Regions from separate parts of the Homo sapiens genome. Here regions 2 and 3 are each linked to region 1. Evidence: promoter capture Hi-C in human tissues and cell types (Jung and others, 2019). All regions are on one chromosome and are shown on one strand. Each heading gives the region's core, a stretch centred on a gene start or on the middle of the fragment in contact. The rest is flanking DNA. Distances are from core to core; before and after follow the strand shown.

What was found. The method cuts DNA at HindIII sites, captures the fragments that hold promoters and counts their contacts. A contact is called where the count stands out against the background at its distance.
Region 2: a contact is called between a fragment that was not itself captured here and the fragment with the promoter of ZMIZ2 in region 1, in 1 of the 25 tissues and cell types used here (dorsolateral prefrontal cortex).
Region 3: the fragment with the promoter of PGAM2 here is called in contact with the fragment with the promoter of ZMIZ2 in region 1 in 1 of the 25 tissues and cell types used here (dorsolateral prefrontal cortex).

The regions. Positions count from the first base shown.
Region 1 is chr7:44,747,312-44,751,497 of GRCh38, reverse strand. It overlaps ZMIZ2 (zinc finger MIZ-type containing 2), which reads right to left and starts at 2,651. Exons shown (of 19, transcript NM_031449.4): 1 at 2,507-2,651. RefSeq lists an enhancer at 97-566 and silencers at 2,347-2,396, 2,407-2,516, 2,627-3,156. The HindIII fragment of the contact is 31,122 bases long and covers 1-4,186 here.
Region 2 is chr7:44,214,067-44,218,178 of GRCh38, reverse strand. CAMK2B (calcium/calmodulin dependent protein kinase II beta) reads left to right here. Exons shown (of 24, transcript NM_001220.5): 24 at 1-1,025. It overlaps YKT6 (YKT6 vesicular SNARE protein), which reads right to left. Exons shown (of 7, transcript NM_006555.4): 7 at 3,885-4,112. Among named protein-coding and RNA genes, the nearest start is that of YKT6, 15 kb to the right of the region's middle. RefSeq lists enhancers at 1-165, 166-713, 3,123-4,038. The HindIII fragment of the contact is 6,682 bases long and covers 1-4,112 here.
Region 3 is chr7:44,064,149-44,067,967 of GRCh38, reverse strand. PGAM2 (phosphoglycerate mutase 2) reads left to right here and starts at 2,401. Exons shown (of 3, transcript NM_000290.4): 1 at 2,401-2,852; 2 at 2,956-3,136. The coding sequence starts at 2,439. It overlaps DBNL (drebrin like), which reads right to left. Exons shown (of 13, transcript NM_001014436.3): 13 at 1-3,819. RefSeq lists a silencer at 1,385-1,454 and enhancers at 2,635-2,704, 2,765-2,814, 3,005-3,064, 3,709-3,818. The HindIII fragment of the contact is 10,392 bases long and covers 1-3,819 here.

The sequences.
Region 1 (4,186 bases), core at 1,402-3,901:
CGCCCGTGGTCAAAGGCCTCAAAGTGCAGGCAGCACTCTGTGCAGCACTGCCTCATTTTAGGTCACCTAGGGCAGCAGCTCCCCAACTGCAGCACATCAAAACCAGCTCGCAGCTGGTGATGACAGGCTGCCCAGCCCCACCTGAAGTCAGTAGGATGGGCTGGGGCCTAAGCCCAGAATTTCTAACAAGTTTGCAGCTACTGCTGCTGCTGGTCCAGGAACTGTAGTTTGAGAACCTCAGATCTAGGAAATGCAGTGAGCTGGGGAGAAGGAGCACAGGGCAGGTACAAGGAGGGGAGGAGCCCACAGCAGGCTCCTATGTCACATGAGCCTGGGGAATTCCACCCCTGATGGTTCTCTGCTGTGGACAGAGACCACAAAGATTTCCAGTTCCCTCTGAGCTTACTCTTCACTGCACAGGGGGATTTCCTGCCGACCCGAACTCATGCCTCTGGTCTCCTCTCTGAGGACAGTCTCTCTGAAAAGACTTCCAGTCTCCAGGTCTGGTATCCTTGACCCTGTGCCCCTGATGATAGGATAGTGTTCTGCGTTGTGTGTGTGCAGATCCTCTTCTCATCTCCTGGCTTTGAGTCTGGGTTGGGAACAAGCCTGGAGCCTGGAATCTGGATCCCAGATCATGCAAGGCCCATGCCCACCAAGGGTCTTAGTGCCTGGCGCTTTCCTTGTAAACTAACTCCAGCTGGAAGCTAGGACCCCTTGAGAGATGGACAAGGTCAGTCTAGAGGGCCACAAGGCTTTCTCGGGGGTCAGATCACATCTTCCTCTAGACAGAGTTACAGAACTCACTACCCCAGACCTCTCTTCCCCAAATGTCCCAGAGTAGCTGCACCCCCAAGTCTCCTGGTTGACCTCCTGAGCCTTGTTCCATGCCACCTCTCTGCCTGCCTAGTCAGCTAGGAGCAGGACCAGCAAGTGGGCCCTGTGGCAGGCAACGCTTCTCAATAGGTCACACATCAGGACTCACTGTCTCCAAGATTGCAGGGTCAGGATCCAACCCAGGTGACAATGGAGTCAAAGGGTATTGAAGAAATGATGGCTGTGGAATGTTGCAGGAGCGGGGTCCTTGGTAGCAAAAAGTGGGGTACTCACATATACAGGTAGCTGAAAGTCCTGCCCCCTCTACCTGTAAGGCCACAGTACTAAAATGTCTAAGCGTGGGGCTAAGTCAGGATGCAGAGTTCATCAAAAAGTCCAGGAATAAGCAATGGCCCAGGCATGAGACATTTCAGTGAACAGCTGAAGGGACAACCTTAACCTGGCATCAGTTTACAATGTGTAAGATGGATATCTGGTAGCATCCTAGGACTGAGGACACATGACCACCTTCATGTCATCAGCCCTTGGGAGCTCAATCCCAATAATCAGGATGCTCCCCAAACATCTTAGGCCTGTCCTTCAGAAATCTACAACCGGCAACTGTCACCTGCTTGTTCTCTTCATTTACACTTCCAGCTTGTAACTATCCCCTGGGCATGACAAGGGCTAGAGGTCAGTACCTCTGGAAGTTAAGATTCCTTCACTTCTCCTGTTTCCACACTAAGCATCAAGGGATGCCCTCTGGTTCTAGCTTGCCAGAACTTGGTGGTGAGTCTGTGTCCATCCTATCCGTAATCACCACGGTCTCAGACCAAGTCACATGTTCCGTGTGTGTCCCTGTGAAATCTGCGATGACACAAATTAAAGACACCACCATGGATGTTCTGTAATACTGGAAAGAGGGTACCCTAGGGAGAAGGAGAGGCAGAACACTGCAGGGCAGAGGGTCCAGGGAATGGGAGGAGAGACACGGTAGGTGGAGGGGTAAACAAGGCACCGGGTGGGGGTGCCGCGGTGAAGGACACCTGGCACTAGGGAAGACAAGGCACCTCAGGGGAGCAGGGCATCCTCACGCCTGAGCTTCAGTATGTCCAGTTTGGAAAGGGGTGTCCCCATCAAAACTGGCAGCTGGGGGCTGGCCGCTCAGCGTCGTTCAGCCCAGGAGCGGAACAGCTCCTCCGCGAGCAGGTGACGGCCTCAGACGGCCCCCACATCGCCGTGCTGGTGGGCACGTAAGTAGGAGCGGAGGGGCGTACCATGTAGGTGAGACTGCCTGGCCCCAAAGCTAGGAACGATCAGGTTGGAGCGAAGGCCCGGCCAGCCTTCATCGCTCAGGAGAACCCCGAGCGCCGCTTACACCCCTCGGCCAGCCTCCAACAAAGACTCAGGGGAGGGCTGGATGACCCTGACGCCCACGGGGCCGAGCCTGCCCAAGACCACGACGCACGCGTGGCAGGTGCCGGCAGGTGGGCGGCAGAGCCTCTAGCCCCAGCCCAGCTGTGAACCCTACCGTGGCGCCGCAGCGGAACCGGGGCGCCCCGGGCGACCAGCTACACCTGCCTGCCCGCCCGCACCTGCCGGCCCGCACCTGCCGCACCTGCCTGCCCCCGCCGGCCCACACCTGCCTGCTGGCGGCGTTGCCAGGGGCCACCCCCAGGACCCCGCTCACCTCCGCCCGGCCTGGCCCGGCCCCTCGCCGTGGCGGCCCCCGGCCCGCGCCGCTCCATGCGCTCAGCCCGCCCTCCGCGCCGCCCGCCGCCCCGGGGCCGCCGCCACCCGCGCCATCGCGCCGCCGCCCGCTCCGAGGGCACAATGGAGCCGCCGCCGCGCCGCTCATGCATATGCATGACGCCGCGCAGCCGGCCCCGCCTCCCAGGCCAGAGCAGCAGAGCCCCGAGCCGGCGCTCGGGGCGGGGGCGGCCGCGAGCCCGAGCGGCCCAAAGCGGCAGGGTGGGGCCAGGGCCGCAGGTGGCTGGGCGGGCAGGAGACGCAGCCTGATCGCGACCTGCGCCCCCAGCCCCCTCCACACCTTTCTGAACGCGGCGTCGGCAGAGCCACTGCGCTCTTCCTGCTCGCAGTCCGCCGGGAGCGGGGCGGGGCCGGGCGGCGGAGGCGGGGCCAGGACGCCGGGGCGGGGCCGAGTGGAAGGCGGGGCCAAGGTGCCGGGGCGGGGTCGGGAGGAGGAGGCGGATCCAGAGAGCCGGGGTGGGGCCAGGGCTCGGGGCGGGCCCCGGCGGAGGAGGAAAGGAAGAGTGAGTCCTTGCCCTTCCCCCACCCGCCCCGCCCGCGCCCCGCCCGCGCCCCCCCTGCTTCCTGGGAGTCCATTGCTCTGGCCCGGCGGGCGGGGACACGACTGGGAGACAGAGAGACCCAGGGTGCCACTTTTGGGAGGGGATCTTATTAAAGGACTCCGGAAGCCCCTCGTTAAAGCAGAAAACTAAACTTAACAAGTTCGCTGTCCTCACTGCTCAGTTCTCTCTTCCCAGTGGTTCTCCTTCTGGAAAAAGTCACTATTGAGCTAGTCTAGCCTGATGGAATAGCCTCTCTGATCAGTTTCGATCTTTGAAATGCTATTATCAGCCTTTAAGTTATTCTTGACTTTTCCTACCGTAAGTTGAGGAAGACCACATTCTCTCAACTACCCATAATTAATTTTTCTTAATTGTGGTAAAATACACATAACGTAAAACTTACCATCTTAACTGTTTCCAAGTGTAGTTCTGTGGCACCAAGTACATTCACATTCTTGTGCAACCACCAACCGTCTCCAGGACTTTTTCATCTTCTCAAATGGAAACTCCATACCCAGTAAACACTAGCTCCCCATTCTTTCCTCCTCCTAGCCTTTGGCATTCACTATTCGTCTCTAAATTAGACTACTCTAAGGACATCGTATAAGTGGAATCATACATTATATGTCTTTTTGTGACAGTCTTACTTTAGTTAGCACAGTGTCCTCACTTCCATCCATGTTGTGGCATGTGTCAGAATTTCTTTCTTTCTTTCTTTCTTTCTTTCTTTCTTTCTTTCTTTCTTTCTTTCCTTTCTCTCTCTCTTTCTTTCTTTCTTTCTTTCCTTCCTTCTTTCCTTCCTTCTTCCCTCCCCTTCCCTTCCCTTCTTTTTTTTGACGGAGTCTCACTCTGTCGCCAGGCTGGAGTGCAGTGGTGCAATCTCGGCTCACTGCAACCTCCACCTCCCAGGTTCAAGCGATTCCCCTGCCTCAGCCTCCTGAGTAGCTGAGACTACAGGGGCACGCCACCACGCCTGGCTAATTTTTTTGTGTGTGTGTTTTAGTAGAGACGGGGTTCATCATGTTGGCCAGGATGGAATCGATCTCCTGACCTCGTGA
Region 2 (4,112 bases), core at 1,022-3,521, 530 kb after region 1:
GGAGGCGTGAGGGCAGTGCTGCCCGTGCAGTGTCAGGTGTGCCAGTGCCTTGGCGGGCTGCAGTGCGTGTGAGGGCACCTTCTAGGTGGGCCAGGGATGCAGCTATGGAGATAAGGCGGGCTGGGGACAGAAACAGGTGGGCACAGGGCCCAGGACACCAGCGGATGGAGGGCAGGGTCTAGCCCTGTGCTCCTGAGCGTCGGCTGCCTGGGTTCGAGGCGGTGGGTCCCCGGCCCCTTGTGATGGTGTGTACCATGGGGGAGCTCGGGGACAGGGCAAGCCCGAGCATGGTGGGGCTGCAGGGTGGGTCTGAAGCCAGGTTGGGTGGGGGTGGTCACAAGCCCTGACTGCAGAGGGTCAGGGGCTCCTGCCCCAGTGCCTGCCCACTTTCAATTCACATTGTTTTCAACAAGGATTTTCTTTATCTTCCCCTACAAATCAAGCCAAGGGAGGGGCACAGAATGGGGAACAGGACACAGGATCCTAAACTCCAAGGGGACTGTCCACCGATGAACACTCAGAGTGGACACCATCTTCCGTCCACGCTGTGCCCAGGACAGCTGTCCCCATCCATGAACACAGGGTAAACATCTGCCGGGCTCCGCACCAGTGGCTCCCTGGGCCATGGGACAGCGGCAGGGCTCACCACGGACAGCACGTGGCCCAGCAGCCGGCCACCCTGGCGTCCTGGGGCCTCCTCCCCTCCTCTCCCTCTCACCTTGTCACCTCCACGGAGCTGCCTGTCTGGGATAATTTGGGGATTTTTTTTCTGGGGGATAATTCTTTTGCATGACCCCTAAAGAGCAAGCCACACCGGTCTGCTAGCTAGGTGTCCGCGGTGTGGTGGTGGCGGCCGCTGGCCAGCGCTGCAAGGGGTCGGCTGCCCACGGTGCTGGCTGGCCTCCCCTCCTCTCTCTTTTTGCTGAGTTTCATTGTCTTTTCTTTCTGAGCCTTGTAAGTGTACAAAAATTATTCTTATTTTGTTCTGTCTCGGGAAACTGCAAATAAAAGAAAAACAGGACAAACTGCTTCAAGTGCAGCTGGGTGCTTTAGCTGGAATCCTGCCGACCTCCTGCGCCAAAATACAGACTCAAGCCCGGTCCCTGGCCAAGACCCTACTTGGGCCCCTCCTCCAATGAAAGGTAGTGCTATGGGAGCCCTGAGCTGGCCCTGACAGTCCTGAGCCCCTCTAGGGTGAACGGCTCACCCCAGGTAGGGCACTAGTCATAGATCATAGCTCTACCAGCTGTCTCCACCTCTTCCTCTGGTCCTCTGAAGTCTTCTGGGCCCAGCGCTGTCCACCCTGAATGCTGGAACTGAAACTGGATCCCAGCCCCCAACACCCCTGACCTCTCCATTCACCCCCGGTGGCCGCTAAGGATGTGGCCAGGGCAGCCTCTGGGCAGGAAGGAGCCCCAGGACCAAGACCTCTGGCTGTCCTGCTGTTTCCTTCCGCCCCTGCTACATGTATTGGCTATTCTGGATGCTGAGGACACACAGTGACCACAGAGCCGGGCTCCACCCCAGTGGATTATGCAGACAGATGGCACGCAGGCCTGTGTGGACATCAGCCTCGGGCACCAGACATAGGCAAGGCGCAAGGTGATACAGTAGGCAGCCACCATGGGGGCCAGGAGGCTCCAGCAGAGGCCACACAACCAGCCCAGAATCCAGGACAGAGAGCTGGAATGGAGACAGGGAAGCCAGATACCAGGCCAGACTGGCCAGGTGCTACAGGCCTGTGGGCCAGGCCAGGCTTGGGGACTTCGTCCTGGGTGTGAAGGAGACAGGCACCCCTGAGGCCTTCCCTCTGCATCTCCAGCCCAAGCTAAGCGCAAACTCTTAGGTTGGAGTAAGGAGTAACCCCCTGCCAAGTTTCTCCTGTCCTCAGGCTCCACCCACCACCTATGCTGCCTGGCCCCATGGGGCACACGCTCAGGCCCAGCCTGGGAAAGCAACTGCACCTGCCTGTGCTATGCTGGCCCTTCTCAGCCTCAATGCCCTCCTCCCTCCCCGACGCACCCTCGTGGCCCCCGCTGGGCCCCCTGATGCACCCTCATGTCTCCATGGCAACCTGCTCAGAGTGTGGCCCTGCCCTTGGCTCCCCTCCACACCTGTGTCCCAGGCAGTGCCACGGCACTTTCCTAAACAGAAGGATGGGCTTCAAAACAGTCCCAGACACTAAACACACCTGCATTTTGGGTCCAAGTAACTTCTGACAAGACGAGTGCCCCTACACACTCTCAGTCCTATCCACTATGGGCAAGGAGCCTGAAGGATCCCCCAGAACTGGCTAAAGCCCTCAGTCTCCTCCTCCACCCTGAGCACCTTCACGCGGCAGAGTGGCCCTGGATGTCAGCTTCTTGCTCCCCATGGTCTGCACCTGGACAGGTGCTCTCAGGTGTGTGGGTGGGCAGGTGGCAGGTCCCAAGAGCCAGGTGCAAAGAATCTAGGCCAGTGCCCACGAGTGCTGCAGTGTCTGTCCCCAGCATGGTATCTAGGGCTCCACTTGCCTATCAGCTGTAATCGGAGGAGGCTTTCCAGGCCAGGCCTCCCCCAGGAAGGCTGCAGGCACTGCGGATCGTGCGCCCTCACATGCATTATTCCTGAGGCCCTTCTGCAGATGCCATCAGGGCAGCAACTCTGATGAGGTATTAGGGCACAGCACACAGGGCTAAGCCACCCTGTACTGGGCCAAGCGCTACAGGCAAAAAGGACACCACCGACGGGCATTTCATTCATCGCTTTTATTTTTATATATTTTTGAGAGGGAGCCTCACTCTGTCGCCCAGGCTGGAGTGCAGTGGCGCGATCTTGGCTCACTGCAACTTCTCCCTCCTGGGTTCAAGTGATTCTCCTGCCTCAGCCTCCCGAGTAGCTGAGATTACAGGTGCCCGCCACCATGCCCAGCTAACTTTTGTATTTTAGTAGACATGGGGTTTCACCATGTTGGTCAGGCTGGTCTCGAACTCCCGACCTCAAATGATCTGCCTACCTCAGCCTCCCAAAGTGCTGGGATTACAGGCATGAGCCACTGCACCCGGCCCATTCATCACTTTTAAATAGCACCCTCTGAACAAAGCTCCCTGGGCCACATGACCCTAAGGGTTACCCCATCCCACCCCAACCCAGGTCTGGCAGGTCCTCAGAACAGGAAAAGCTGAGCACTGCCCAAGGCTGCTTGCTGGGCCAGTCAGAGAGGTCTCTGCCTTCCAGGATCAGAAGTACAGGCTGAAAGCAGCCTTGGGCCCGCCTCCCTGGGAGGCTACAGAGGCTTCAGAGGGTTCCCTGAACTCAAAACCAGATGTGAGACTTGAATTTGACTTACCCCTGGTTCACCTCCCAACCAAAGCAGGGGTCAGCTTTGGCTCCTCCAGGAACCAGGAAGCTTCCAGGTACCCTGTGGAGCCCCCTCTGCTCCTGAAAAGTTGCCACCTGTGCTTGGTGGGATGCCAGGTGGTCTCAGATTGACCCTGGGGTCAGCGGTGAGGGACAGGAAGCCTACAGCGGGATCAGGATGGGGATGGGGCCTCCTGTCCCATGGCTCTGCAGCTATGAGGCAGCTTTCCTAGGGTGGGTCTCCTGGCTGCAGCTAAGACCAGGCAACAGGATTCAGCAATGACAGGGCTTCTTCTACTCCAGGGCTCCCTCACCTGGTTAACAGCAAAAAAGAAAATACAGTTCCTGCTAGCAAGGTCTATAGAAAGGAGGTGAAGGAGTCAGGCCTGCAGCTACCTCTCCTGGACAGGAGCTGGTCAGGATAACTTGGACCCTTGCATGCGGCAGGCCCACAGGCACACAGCATGAGGCCACTCTCTCCCCCGGGGGAAGGGCTTGGTGAAGAAAGGATTCCCCTGAAGCACAAAGAAAGCACAGGACCACTGTGAAATTTCAAGACAACTTTATCCAGACAGGCGCCTCTCAAATAGAACACAGGGAAGTTAGGCAGCAGTTACTAAAATACAGTCTCGCCAAATGATTTACAACAGAACACAACAGGAGCAGGGGATCTGTGGGTGGGGCTGGGCTGGGCCCTCTATCTCACAGGGCCTGAGTCAAGCCAGCCCGCCCTGCAAGGCAGGGGCTGACCTGCAAGCGGAGATCTCACTTCC
Region 3 (3,819 bases), core at 1,152-3,651, 680 kb after region 1:
ACATCCCACTCCTCTGATTCTTCCTGGAGCTCTTTCTGTTGGTGCACTTGAGGTTTCAAGCCGCCTGTGTGTCCAGGCTAGGCAATACTTGTTACCTCACCACTTCTCTGCGGAACTTTGAATCTGATCTCCTTTTCTTATCTGTCTACTGACAGCTGCTCCTGCATCTGTCCAGGATTGGTGGCTGTCAGTGGGAGAGACATGGGAAGATGCTCCCTCCACCTTCCTGGGACCACCTTGTTGACTCAGCAGCCTTCCTCGCCGCCCACCATGCTATGCCTTCCTGGATGGAGGCCCTGAGGGTGGCTTTTGGTTTTCCTACCCCTGTACCCCTCCAAGAAAGCTCTGGCACACTGCAGAGGCCAGCAACTACTTGTCAAATGAATCAAAGGAAAGTCAAGCCGGAGCCAAGGGTCAGAAGCAGGGGCTTGCTTCCCCGAAGTCCAGCCCTTCTTTGGGCTCCCCTTTCCTTTTTGACACCTCCTGCTTGGTTGGCAGTGAGGTCTCCCAGGTCTGGGGGATCCTTGCCACTGCTTCTGCACCCAGCCCTGGCTAAGCGGCCTTGTTCTCATCAAAGCTGCCGAGACCTGCAGGGTACTCAGCTTCTACTTCCACTCCTACACAGCTGCAAGTGACTTGAAAATATGACCATGCTTCAAAGTCTCCAGTGATTCCCACTGTGTTGGGACACAAAGCCCACCTCTCTGCCATGTGCCCCTGATGGTCGCTGCCCCAGCTTGTTTGCTTTCTGTAGGGCTTGGGTCTTTGCCAACCCCTCTACCTGAATTGCTCTCCCTGTAGGACTCATCATAGCTGAGGCCTTTGCACTCCGCTCTTTCCACTCACATGTCACCTCAGGGCTGTCCCCGGCCTCTCCTTTCCCATCTCTCCCAGTACATTATGGTCCTTCCTTCCTAGCATCTGGTGCTATCTACGGTAGGCATGTTTAGCTGCTGGTACGATCCCTCCTCCACTGAAATATGGGCTTCATGTCTGGCCCCTGTGGGACTGCCAGAGCCTGGTCCTCAGTCATGTTTAGTTGGGCTAGTGAATCAACTCTTGGTCAAAGGGACAAAAGCAGATGAGGAGATGTGGCTTCAATCAGGATCAGTGTGGAACAGTGAGACCTGCGCATGGCACTGCTAGGAGGGATGGGTTCCACCTGCCAGCCTTGGGGGTCCTGGCAGCCGACAGGACTTTGCCCACTGGGACTTGTCTGCCAACCTTTGGGTACAGAGCCTTAGCTTCACAGGCCCCAAGCCAGGAGCCCCTCCCCAGGTAGGCCAGCAGGGATGGAGGGAGGCCTGTCGAGGGTTTCTTGCACACTCAGATCCAAGTCTCAGAGTGGTGGTCCCTCTGCTGGCCTCTCACCTACCCGCTCCTGTTATCAGAAGTGTCGCAGGTGACAGTGTGGTCACTGGGGTGGGAGGAAATGGGAGGCCCTGGATGGGGCCCATGCCCAAGGGTCTGGCCATGGCCCCTTCATTAGGGCCCCAATTGTGACTTTATTGCTCATAGTCTCTTCCCTGCCTTGGTGGCTCTCATCCCCCAAACCTGAATGCAGAAGTCTTGGTCCTAGACTCAACTCCGTGCCACCCTTCAGCCTACGTTGTGGGTTCCTGCTAAGCTGAGCATTTACCTAACAATCAAGACTTCTGACAGTCCTCAGTCCTGCCCCCAAACCCCCTTGGATTTCTCTTTTTCAAGGTGGTTTCGGCTAGGAGAGTGAGCGTGGCTTGGGTGAGGGCAGATAGGGTGGGAGCATGGGGCATGTATGGATGAGACCTTGACAAAGGGACCCCGGAGGAAAGACAGGGGCCCTTTCCCCCTTTGTCCTGGAAACCCGGCTCAGCCCCAGCCCTTGCCCATTCTGCTGCTGCTGCCTGGTACCTTCCACAAGGCCAGACTCCTCTCCACAAAGCTGTGGTCTGCACCAGCTCCTCTGGCTCTCCTCCTCTGCCTGCTGAGGGCCGCCTCCTAGCCTGGCTGCCAATCACAGGAGAAAGGGGTTGGGATTTTGTTTGTGCCTCTGTCTGAGCAGAGAATGGCTGATAGGCCACTGAGCGTTGCCCTGGAGAGCCCCTCTGTCCCTGCTATCCCCATCTCCCCTGGCCCAGACTTCTGCCCTTCACGCCCATCCCTGACCAGCAGCCCCACTCAGTCTGGGCTCTGGGTGCCAGCTGGTTATAGACATGCCACCTGAACCCAGGCCAGGAGCTGGTGGATGCGTGGGGCTATTTTAAGCACAGCCTCTTGGCCTGCACACTCCCCTGGCCCCCAGCCCCCAGCAGCTCAGCTACTGGTCACCTGCCACCGCCTGGAATGCTGATTGGCAGTTGGCTGGGGTGGGTGGGGGCTGGGAAGACACTATTATAAAGCTGGGAGTGTTGGGAAGCAGCCGTCCCCGTCCAGAGTCCTCTGTGGTCCCTGCTGCCACCATGGCCACTCACCGCCTCGTGATGGTCCGGCACGGCGAGAGCACATGGAACCAGGAGAACCGTTTCTGTGGCTGGTTCGATGCAGAGCTGAGTGAAAAGGGGACCGAGGAGGCCAAGCGGGGAGCCAAGGCCATCAAGGATGCCAAGATGGAGTTTGACATCTGCTACACGTCAGTGCTGAAGCGGGCCATCCGCACCCTCTGGGCCATCCTGGACGGCACGGACCAGATGTGGCTGCCTGTGGTGCGCACTTGGCGCCTCAATGAGCGGCATTACGGGGGCCTCACAGGCCTCAACAAGGCAGAAACGGCCGCCAAGCACGGGGAGGAGCAGGTGAAGATCTGGAGGCGCTCCTTCGACATCCCGCCGCCCCCGATGGACGAGAAGCACCCCTACTACAACTCCATTAGCAAGGTGGGCTGCCTTTGCTGGGAAGGCCTCTGGGAAGCTGCAGAGTGGGGAGTCGGGTGGGGGCCCACTGGCTTGGGAGGGAAAGCAGCGTGCCTGTGTCCCCCAGGAGCGTCGGTACGCAGGCCTGAAGCCCGGGGAACTCCCCACCTGCGAGAGCCTCAAGGACACCATTGCCCGGGCCCTGCCCTTCTGGAACGAGGAGATTGTTCCCCAGATCAAGGCCGGCAAGCGAGTGCTCATTGCAGCCCACGGGAACAGCCTGCGGGGCATTGTCAAGCACCTGGAAGGTGAGGCCACCTTCAGGAGCCTGGGCAGGGTGGGTGGGCAGCAGCCCCAGCTGGCTTCTCATCTCAGCAAAGTCTCTCGCCCATGGACCAGGCTTTCTAGGCGTGGGGCTCCACATCATTCACTGAAAAAGGAGGGCTGAGAAGCCATTTTTTAGTTTTGTGAAATTTTCCCCATTTCTGTGTAACTGGGACACACTCCACAGGGGCTGACTGCACTCGAAGCTCGCTGTGTCCCGAGGTGGGGCAGGCTCCAAAGGTGGCATCTGCCAAGGGACACCCAGCTAGGAAACGGAAGGGCTGGGCTTAGAGCATCTGGCTCCAAATCCCAACTTACTGTGGGGCCCTGGACAAGCCACCTCCATCTCTGGGCCTCTCCCTTTTCCGGGGTGGTGGGGAGCTCCCCCTGGTACTGAATTCCTCTTGATGTAGGCTTGGACCCCTCGCAGGGCCCTCCCCCATCAGGTCCTCAGAATCCCTGCATGAGCTTCACCACCTATCTCCCTCTGGAGCCCCTCTCTGGGCAAAGGAAAGACCAATCAAAAGAGGGGTGCAGGACTATGGAGTGGCCAGACTCTGGGCTTGCAGCTGGGCTCCCACTGAAGAGCAAGGGCTGACAAATGGGCCCGGGATGCATGGGCGCAGTAAGGCCTCGCCCAGAGTGACTGGCACCTCCGCTCCGCCTC